Regions from separate parts of the Homo sapiens genome. Here all the other regions are linked to region 2. The links are contacts of gene promoters, found by promoter capture Hi-C in human tissues and cell types (Jung and others, 2019). All regions are on one chromosome and are shown on one strand. The core of a region is centred on a gene start or on the middle of the fragment in contact, and the rest is flanking DNA. Distances in the headings are between cores, read along the strand shown. Region 1 has its middle 12 kb from the start of ABTB1. Region 2 holds the start of KBTBD12 (kelch repeat and BTB domain containing 12). Region 3 overlaps MGLL (monoglyceride lipase).

What was found. Contacts are between HindIII fragments. The study calls those that stand out against the background at their distance.
Region 1: a contact is called between a fragment that was not itself captured here and the fragment with the promoter of KBTBD12 in region 2, in 1 of the 25 tissues and cell types used here (hippocampus).
Region 3: a contact is called between a fragment that was not itself captured here and the fragment with the promoter of KBTBD12 in region 2, in 1 of the 25 tissues and cell types used here (spleen).

The regions. Positions count from the first base shown.
Region 1 is chr3:127,683,176-127,685,875 of GRCh38, reverse strand. No RefSeq gene overlaps it. Among named protein-coding and RNA genes, the nearest start is that of ABTB1, 12 kb to the right of the region's middle. RefSeq lists enhancers at 144-273, 664-773, 2,580-2,700. The HindIII fragment of the contact is 4,293 bases long and covers 1-2,700 here.
Region 2 is chr3:127,913,961-127,916,660 of GRCh38, reverse strand. KBTBD12 (kelch repeat and BTB domain containing 12) reads right to left here and starts at 1,429. Exons shown (of 6, transcript NM_207335.4): 1 at 1,075-1,429. All of the region lies in intron 3 of LOC107986129 (a long non-coding RNA gene), which reads left to right. LOC124909427 (a long non-coding RNA gene) reads right to left here. Exons shown (of 2, transcript XR_007096071.1): 2 at 1,995-2,315. The HindIII fragment of the contact is 11,252 bases long and covers 1-2,700 here.
Region 3 is chr3:127,768,783-127,771,482 of GRCh38, reverse strand. The region is part of intron 3 of MGLL (monoglyceride lipase); the gene reads left to right. Among named protein-coding and RNA genes, the nearest start is that of MGLL, 52 kb to the left of the region's middle. RefSeq lists an enhancer at 2,608-2,700. The HindIII fragment of the contact is 6,453 bases long and covers 1-2,700 here.

The DNA of each region.
Region 1 (2,700 bases), core at 86-2,585, 230 kb after region 2:
AATGAGTGAGCGAGAGAATGGTTGAGTGAGGGAGTGATGAAGGAATGAATGAGTGGCCAAGGGAGGGAGAGAGGGATGGAAAGAGGGAGGAAGGAGGCAGGAAGGCTTTATCTGAGCCAGGCACTGAGCTGGGAACTGGGTGTGGAAGCAGGGTTGGCCTCGCAGCCTGGCCACCCATGCAGAGGCCCAGACCCCACCCTAGAAGGTCCGTGCGTTTGGGTGAGTGCTCTACTGTTGCTCTCTGGAAATTCTTAATGCTCTTTGAGCAAGGTCCCCACGTGCTGTTTTGCACTGGACCCTGCAAACCACTCAGGCCCTGGGTGGGTGGCACCTGGCCTCTGTGCAGAAGGTCCCCCAAAGGTGTGCAGACCTGAAGGACAGCCCGTTCTCTCCACGTCCTCATGCTCTACTTATGGCCAACCAAATTCTGCCTGGAACTTCACTGTATCAAACCTAGAGCCAACAATGTTTGCATTTGTTGGCTTTTCCAGCCTCCTCCATGAACACTCAGGCTCATCACAAGCCCCTTACTGGGCACCTGTGATGCTCCAGGCACGGTGTCCAGCGCTGGGAGGAACCCAGCGCTGCACGGTGACCAGGGCAGAACAAGGTGGGCCGCCCTCACAGAACAAGGACCCCGGGCGACATGGACTCCCACCCCAGAGCCTAACAGCGATGGGCACCCAGTGTCCGCCAGCACAGCCTGGGGCCAGCACAGCCCTCCAGAAGCCAAAGGTGAGCAGGAGCGGGCCGGGGTTGGGGGCACAGCAGAGGGGTCTGCGGGGGAGTTTTCGAGGTGCAGAGAGCTCAGGGCGGCCCCAAAACTGAGAGACTCTCAGGATGGCTGGAGCACAGGTGTGAAGGGCATGGTCATTCGGGGCCCTGCAGGAAACAGCTGCACCTAACCAAGGGTGGTGTCACTAAAGGGGTCAGCAGCAGATGATGCAGCGTCCAAGACCAGCCACAGCAGGGAGCAGACCCTCAGAGCAGCAGTTGCTGCGGGAGAGGACCACCTGTCGGTTGGGGGCTTTAGGTAGAGGGTTGCCCAGCCCCACCTTCACTCTTCTTCCTCTTCTGGTGGGTCAACAAGCCATCCCTATACTACCTTTCCTGTGCAAAATGGAGTTTATTTCCTTTCCATCATTGCTCATTTTGTCATTGTCCAGTTGATTTTTCTTTTTTTTTTTCTGAGACAGCGTCTCACTCTGTTGCCCAGGCTGGAGTGCAGTGGTGCAGTCACAGCTCACTGCAGCCTCAACCTCCTGGGTTCAAGCTACCTTCCCACCTCAGCCTCTAGAGTAGCTGGGACTACAGGCTCGCGCCACCACACCCGGCTAATTTTTTATTTTTTGGAAAGACAGAGTCTCAGTGTGCTGCCCAGGCTGGTCTCAAACTCCTGCGCTCAGACCATCCTCCTGCCTCAGCCTCCCAAAGTGCTGGGATTACAGGCGTGAACCACCAGTCTATTTTTCTGTCTGTTAAAAATTTGTGGGTATCTTGAGTTGGGAGAGAATACATATAATTTTTCCAATAACACATGATGAAAATATTTTTCATTCAACAATAAAATTTTTTTTTCACCTGGGAGTGGGAATGAATTAAAGAGATAAACATGTTTTGTTTTATTTTTAATTTTAAAGGTAGCACAGCTACATTACAGAAACTAAACAGAAATCAGATCAAATATCCCCAGCTCTCACGCAGCAACTCTTCCTCTGGTTTAGGGATGATGGAGGAGTCTCAAACCCAGGGCCTCTGTGTCAAAATGTGTCTTCTATTAGTCTATTTTAACATTTGTCAGAGTAGAGCACACTTCTGAATTTAAATCAACCCAATTTTAGAACCAAGTATTAGACACTAAATTTCAAATTCCATGGTTGTAGTTCACTACTCCTGTGTGGCTGTCTGTGCTACAGGTTTCTCACATAAGCCTGGGGAGCACCCCCTAGTGCCTGAATGTCCTCCACCTTTTCCTTGTGGACACAGAAGCTTCACTGACCACCCTCGTAGTTACAGGAAGCTCTGCGCATCCATGCTCTCTGTTCCTTCCCCACTTGCTGCTCGCTGCGGCTGCTGGCAATGCTTCCTGTTGATTTGCAATACCGCATTGGACACCTTCCTACATAAGTGTTTCCCCATCGCGCTGTCTTCTCTGCCTGAGGCTAAAGTGAGGAATGGGGCCGGGTGCAGTGGCTCATGCCTGTAATCCCAGCACTTTGGGAGGCTGAGGCGGGCGGATCACTTGAGGTCAGGAGTTCGAGACCACCCTGGCCAGCATGGTGAAACAATGTCTCTACTAAAAATATGAAAATTAGCTGGGCATGGTGGTGGGCGCCTGTAGCCCCAGCTACTCTGGAGGCTGAGGCACGAGAATCATTTGAACCTGGGAGATAAAGGTTGCAGTGAGCCGAGATCACACCACTGTATTCCAGCCTGGGTAAAAGGGCTAGACTCCGTCTCAAAAAAATAAAATAAAATAAAATAAAATAATAAAATAAAATAAAGTGAGAAATGGTGTGGTGTGGCTGGGGAATGCTGCCCCAACAACCACACAGCCTAGTTCCTGAGGGGTGGCAGTTCTCAGACTGCAGCTCTCCCTGAACAGGTGCCATAGCTGGTACACCTGGCTGTATGTATCTGCTGTATCAGTGAACCACTAAAATACCAACTCCAGATAATTTTTCCTTAAACTGCCCTCTT
Region 2 (2,700 bases), core at 180-2,679:
TGAAATATTCCAGCATCTACTGAAAAAAATGAAAGGTATGGCAACACTGAGTCCTTAATTCCCAAGCGGCAACAATGTGCAGGACCTGAGTACCCAGCTGCCACCTCTCAGCTGGCACATCTGCTGGGCCCCATTATCCTCTTTGAGACCTGAGGGACAGTCATTATTTGTAATTCTTACGCTGTTGCTTTTCTCTTTCCTGTCCATTTACATTATCCTACAGCCATTTAAGTTTGTGACCCCCAGTTTATACGATTACGTCTCCACACCCTATTTTGTTTCAGCAACACCATCTTGCTAAAATCCTACGCTTGCAGAGGCTGGTAGGAAATGGCTGAGAACACACGCACCACCCTAAATGTACTCTGTGCTTCTCACTAGCATGGAAAAAGACCTGATTCATTTCATAATAATCCATCCCACACACCGGGCATCCAGTAACAGCCAGGCACATGGATGATAAAGACAAATAAGACCAGTTTTCTTTTCTTTTCTTTGCCGAGTTCACACTGTTTTGCATTCTCACAGTGCTTTATACTTTTCAAAGTGCTTTAATCCGCATTATAGCTCATTAGTTCCTCTTAAGAATCATTTGGGGGAAAATGTAGGGCAATTATTCTCCTGGCTTTAAAGTTAAGAGAGTTGCTCAGGGATACATTCAGGGTTTATTAAACTTAAACGAACCCTTCTAAGTGCCAGGCACTATCCTAGGTTCCGGGAAGACAACCAGGAACAGGGAAGTGCCCCTTACCTTTGTTGTGCTTACAGTCTAGCGACGGAAGGCACAATAATACATTGGTCAGGTAATTCGGAGGATGATAATACTATGCAGACTACGAGCCTGAACAACCCGACGGTGAAGGTCGGAGACGGCAGAGATGGCCTGGAGGAGCAGCTCCTGGGAGCCCCACCTGACGCCAGGCGCCGGCCCACTGCGACTCGAAGGAAGTCACTTAGAGCCGAGGCTGCAAGTGCCGGTGGCCCCGGGTCGGCGCCCAGGTTCAACCTGGCCCGGAGTTGAGGCAGGGCTTGTGACTGGGGGCCGCGTTCCCCCGGGGCGCTACCCCTACTTACGAAGGTGCTGCCTGGTTCGGGGCGCGTCCCCACTCGCTGGGCCACGACCTGGCTTGGACGCTACCGTGTGGCAGGGCGGCCAGCGGGCCTGACTGAGGCCACTGCCCAATATGGGCCTGTGCTGGCTGGGCGATATAAATAGAGGTCCCGCGCCCTGCGGAGGAGGAGGGAGGGCGCTGGCAGCGCCTCCGAGGGGACAGGTGCTGCCCTCTGCTTGGAAGTGGCCCGAGACCACGCCGCCGCTGCCCTCCAGCCACTGTGCGCCTGCGCACCTATTCCCGCGCTGGTTCCAGACGGCGACTACAGCCCCGGTGTCGCTGCACAGGGTCTCCCCGCGCGCGTCCCGTACCCTACTGAGCGTCCCCCGCGGAACGCTGTGCGCCTGCGCAGAGTGTTCCCGCGCTGGCCCGCGTGCCAGAGCGACTGAAGGCCTGCGGGGAGGGGATGGGGACAAGTGTTTAAAGGAGGTTTGGAAATCGAGCTTTGAAAAATGCCGGTGTTCCCGTTAGTCTTTTACACTTGCAAAATGACCAAAAGACCCCGTGTGTAGTCTCACTGTGACCGGGGGGTAGGGTTGCCCGGTAAAATACATGAGCCCAGTTAAAGGTAAATTTCAGATACACAACCAGTAATTTTTAGTGTTAAGTATGTCCCAAATATCGCATGGTCAATTCACGTTTAACTCGGTGTTCCGGTTGGGTTTCGTTTTGGTCTTGTATTTTTATTTGCTACATCCTGAGCCATCAGCTTGTGATTTTTATACCCTACACCTCTCTGAGAGTGGGAGGTTTCCAGGAGTCCCGAGAAAGGACTGGTTAGCCGGGAGCAGTGCAGGGATGGGAAGTCTTCCTTAGGCAAGTGTCATAAAATACGGCAGCTGTATTAGCTCAGTTAGCTTAAACCAAAGCAAAATAAAACTGTTTTCAGTGGTGGCAACATAACTTTATTATCTTACTATTATTTTAGCTCTGTAGGTCAGAAGTCCAAAATATGTCTCACTGGATTGAAATCAAGGTGTCAGCAGGACTGTGTTTGTTTCTGGGGCTTCCTGGAGTGAATCTGTCCCTGCCCTTTTGCAGCTTCTGGAAACTGTCTTCATTCTTTTGCTCCTGGCTCCTTCCTCCAGCTTCAAAGCCAGAAAATAGGGCTGAGTCTTTCTCACATGCATTGTGTCTGCAGTTGGTTCCTTTCAGTGGGCTTGTGGTCTCCATCTCGCTAACTTCAAGAATGAAGCCACGGACCTTAAATGTTAAAGAAAGCTTTAAAGGTCACATGGACCCAAACAGTGAGGAGCAGCAAAATTTATTGTGAAGAGCAAAAGAACAATGCTTCCACAACCTAGAAATGGACCTGACTGGGTTCCCTGTGTTGACTGGGTGGCCAGCTTTTATTCCCTTATTTGTCCCTGCCCATGTCCTGCTGATTGGTCCATTTTACCAAGTGCTGATTGGTCCATTTTACAGTGTGCTGATTGGTCCATTTTACAGAGTGCTGATTGGTCCATTTTACAAACCTCTAGCTAGCCACAGAGAGCTGATTGGTGTGTTTTTACAGAGTGCTGATTGGCCCATTTTAGAAACCTCTAGCTAGCCACAGAGCGCTGATTGGTGCGTTTTACAATCCTAG
Region 3 (2,700 bases), core at 5-2,504, 150 kb after region 2:
TGGGAGACTGAGGCAGGAGCTACTTGGGATCGCTTGAACCCAGGAGGTCAAGGCTGCAGTGAGCTGTGATTTCACCACTGCACTCCAACCTGGGCGACAGAGCGAGACCCTATCGCAAAAAATAAAATAAAATGCATAACTGGAGGAAGACAGAAATAGTAAAGGGTTGCCTTGTGATGAGCAGGACCAGAGGGAGGATGGTCGCTGGGTCCACGAAGCTCACGGTGAGCAGAGAGCAGCTGCCTCTGCTCCTGTTGGTGCAGGAGCCAGGCTTTCAAGGAGGCAGGATTGGGAGGGTAACTGCCTGAGGCAATGAGCAGTTGTGGTTCCTGCTTACATGGGCTTGGTTAGCACAAATTGTAGGGTTGAGACATAGGCAGATGGGGGTTTAAGCAGGCTTCTGGGGCCTAATCAGGGACAAGCAGCATAAAGAGAAAGAGGAAATTGGTAAATCATTCAGTCTTGTGACCTTGGACACACATCCTTGTGACCCTGGGCACCTTGCCTGTGACCCTAGATACCTAGCCTTTCCTGGGCTCCCAGCCTTATGACCTCGACGCTCACCCTTGTGACCTTGAGTACCCAGCCTTATAACCTTGGGTGCTCAGCCTTGTGACCTTGAGCTCTCAGCCTGTGACCCTTGGCACTCACCCTTGTGACCCTGGACACCCAGCCTTGTGACCTTGGGCAAGTCACTGATCCTCTGACCTTGGATCACAGGCCAAGTGGTTAAAGATGTTTAAAGACTCCAACAGGGTTTTGTGGCCTGGTTTTGCTCCGTACAGCCCTGCCTCCTGGAGACTATTCCATATTCTTAGATATTCACTGTTCATTTACGGGACTCCCTCTATGCAGCTGCACCTGGCCCTCACGCCTTAGTTCTTTGACCAACCCATGCCACGGCTTGGGCATGACACTCTCCCTCCTGCCATCTCGGTTCTTTCTGAAAGGTGAAGAGACCTGGAGTGGATGAGGGAAGTTCCAACTGCCCTGGGGAGCCTATATCCTCCAAGGGGCTGTGGGGAGGGTCCCAGAAACCTAGAGGGCTGAGCACTGCATTCTTTCCCACCTTATGCAGGGCCATTCAGCTCTTTTTCTGTACAATATTTCATTTGATTAAAGGATTCACTTAAAAAAAATGTTTCAGGGTGAGGCATTACAGTGGGATTACAGTGGTTCACATCTGTAATCCCAGCACTGTGGGAGGCTGAGGTGGGAGGATCGCTTGAGGCCAGGAGTTTGAGACCAGTCTGGGCAATAGGATGTGACTCTGTCTCTACAAAAATAATACAAAAATTAGCTGGGTGCAGTGGCGTGCACCTGTCCCCGCTACTTGGGAGGCTGAGGTGGAAAGATCACTTGAGCCCAGGAGATTGAGGATTTAGGAAGTTTCTTCCACTTCTAGAATTCTCTGATTCTAAATGAGAAACTAGGTATGAAAGCTCTTTGCGAGTTACAAGGGAGGATAGTTATGAAGAGAGGCACCTTATTGCTGTTGCAGCAGAGCGGCCTGGGGAAGGGCAGGCTGATGTCGAGATGACAGGTGGAAGAAGAAAGCAGCCATGGCGCGCGCCGGTCACTGAGCTGAGCACTCACAGGAGCCCCGCTCCATCCTCAGGACAGACCCCCCAGCACTCTGACGGGGCTTCGGGGGTGGGGTGTTGTGGGGTGGAGGCAGGGAGGCTGCTCTGCTCTCCCTCCACTCAGCAAGTATTTATTGAAACTCACTATGTGCCTGCACTGTCTGGGCACTGGGGAAATGCTGAACCAAACAGACATCAGCTTGCAGCCTCTTGGAGCTCACTTGCTACTTAAATATGTTCAGTCCCTCAGGGCTAAGCCACCCGGGCTGGCAGCTCAGGGTCCAGTACTCCCTGGACCTGGAGAAGACCTCAGCTCTGATGGCAGCCTCCCCCTCACCAGCCTCCCTGGGCCTTGCCATCTTCATCTGAGAAGTGGGGAGGATGCACTACCTCCGTCACAGGGTTTTAGTGTGGACTATGGCACTAAGTGAGGGCAGCGTCTAGGTGATGCAGGTTAGTTGAACTTTTGAAATGCCAGTTGTTTAAAAATTGATTTGTAGGAAGCTTATGGTCAAAGACAATCCAATTCTTTTTTTTTTCTTTTTTTTTGAGATAGAGTCTTGCTGTGTTGCCCAGGCTGGAGTGCAATGGCATGATCTCAGCTCACTGCAACCTCCTCCTCCTAGGTTCAAGCAATTCTCCTGCCTCAGCCTCCTGAGTAGCTGGGATTACAGGTGCACACCACCACGCCTGGCTAATTTTTTATTTTTAGTAAAGACGGGGTTTCACCATGTTGGCCAAGCTGGCCTCAAACTCCTGGCATCAGGTGATCTGCCCACCTCAGCCTCCCAAAGTGCCGGGATTACAGGCATAAGCCACCGCTCCTGGCCTGACAATCCAACTCTTTCTAGCAGAGTTTTACCCAGAGACTCCATATGCTGAACTGAAAGGAACCATCTCTAGATATGAGGGCTGTGAGTATGGTAGTGGTTCTCAAAGTGTGATTCTGGTCAAACCAGCAACAGCAGGAGCAGCAGCAGCACCACCCAGGGATTTGCAGGAAGTGCACACTCTCCGGCTCCAGGGTGGGACCAGCAGTCAGTGTTTAGCAAGCCCTTAGGCAACTCTGATGGACACTATAGTCTAGAATCACTGCCCAGGGGTAGACACATGAGTG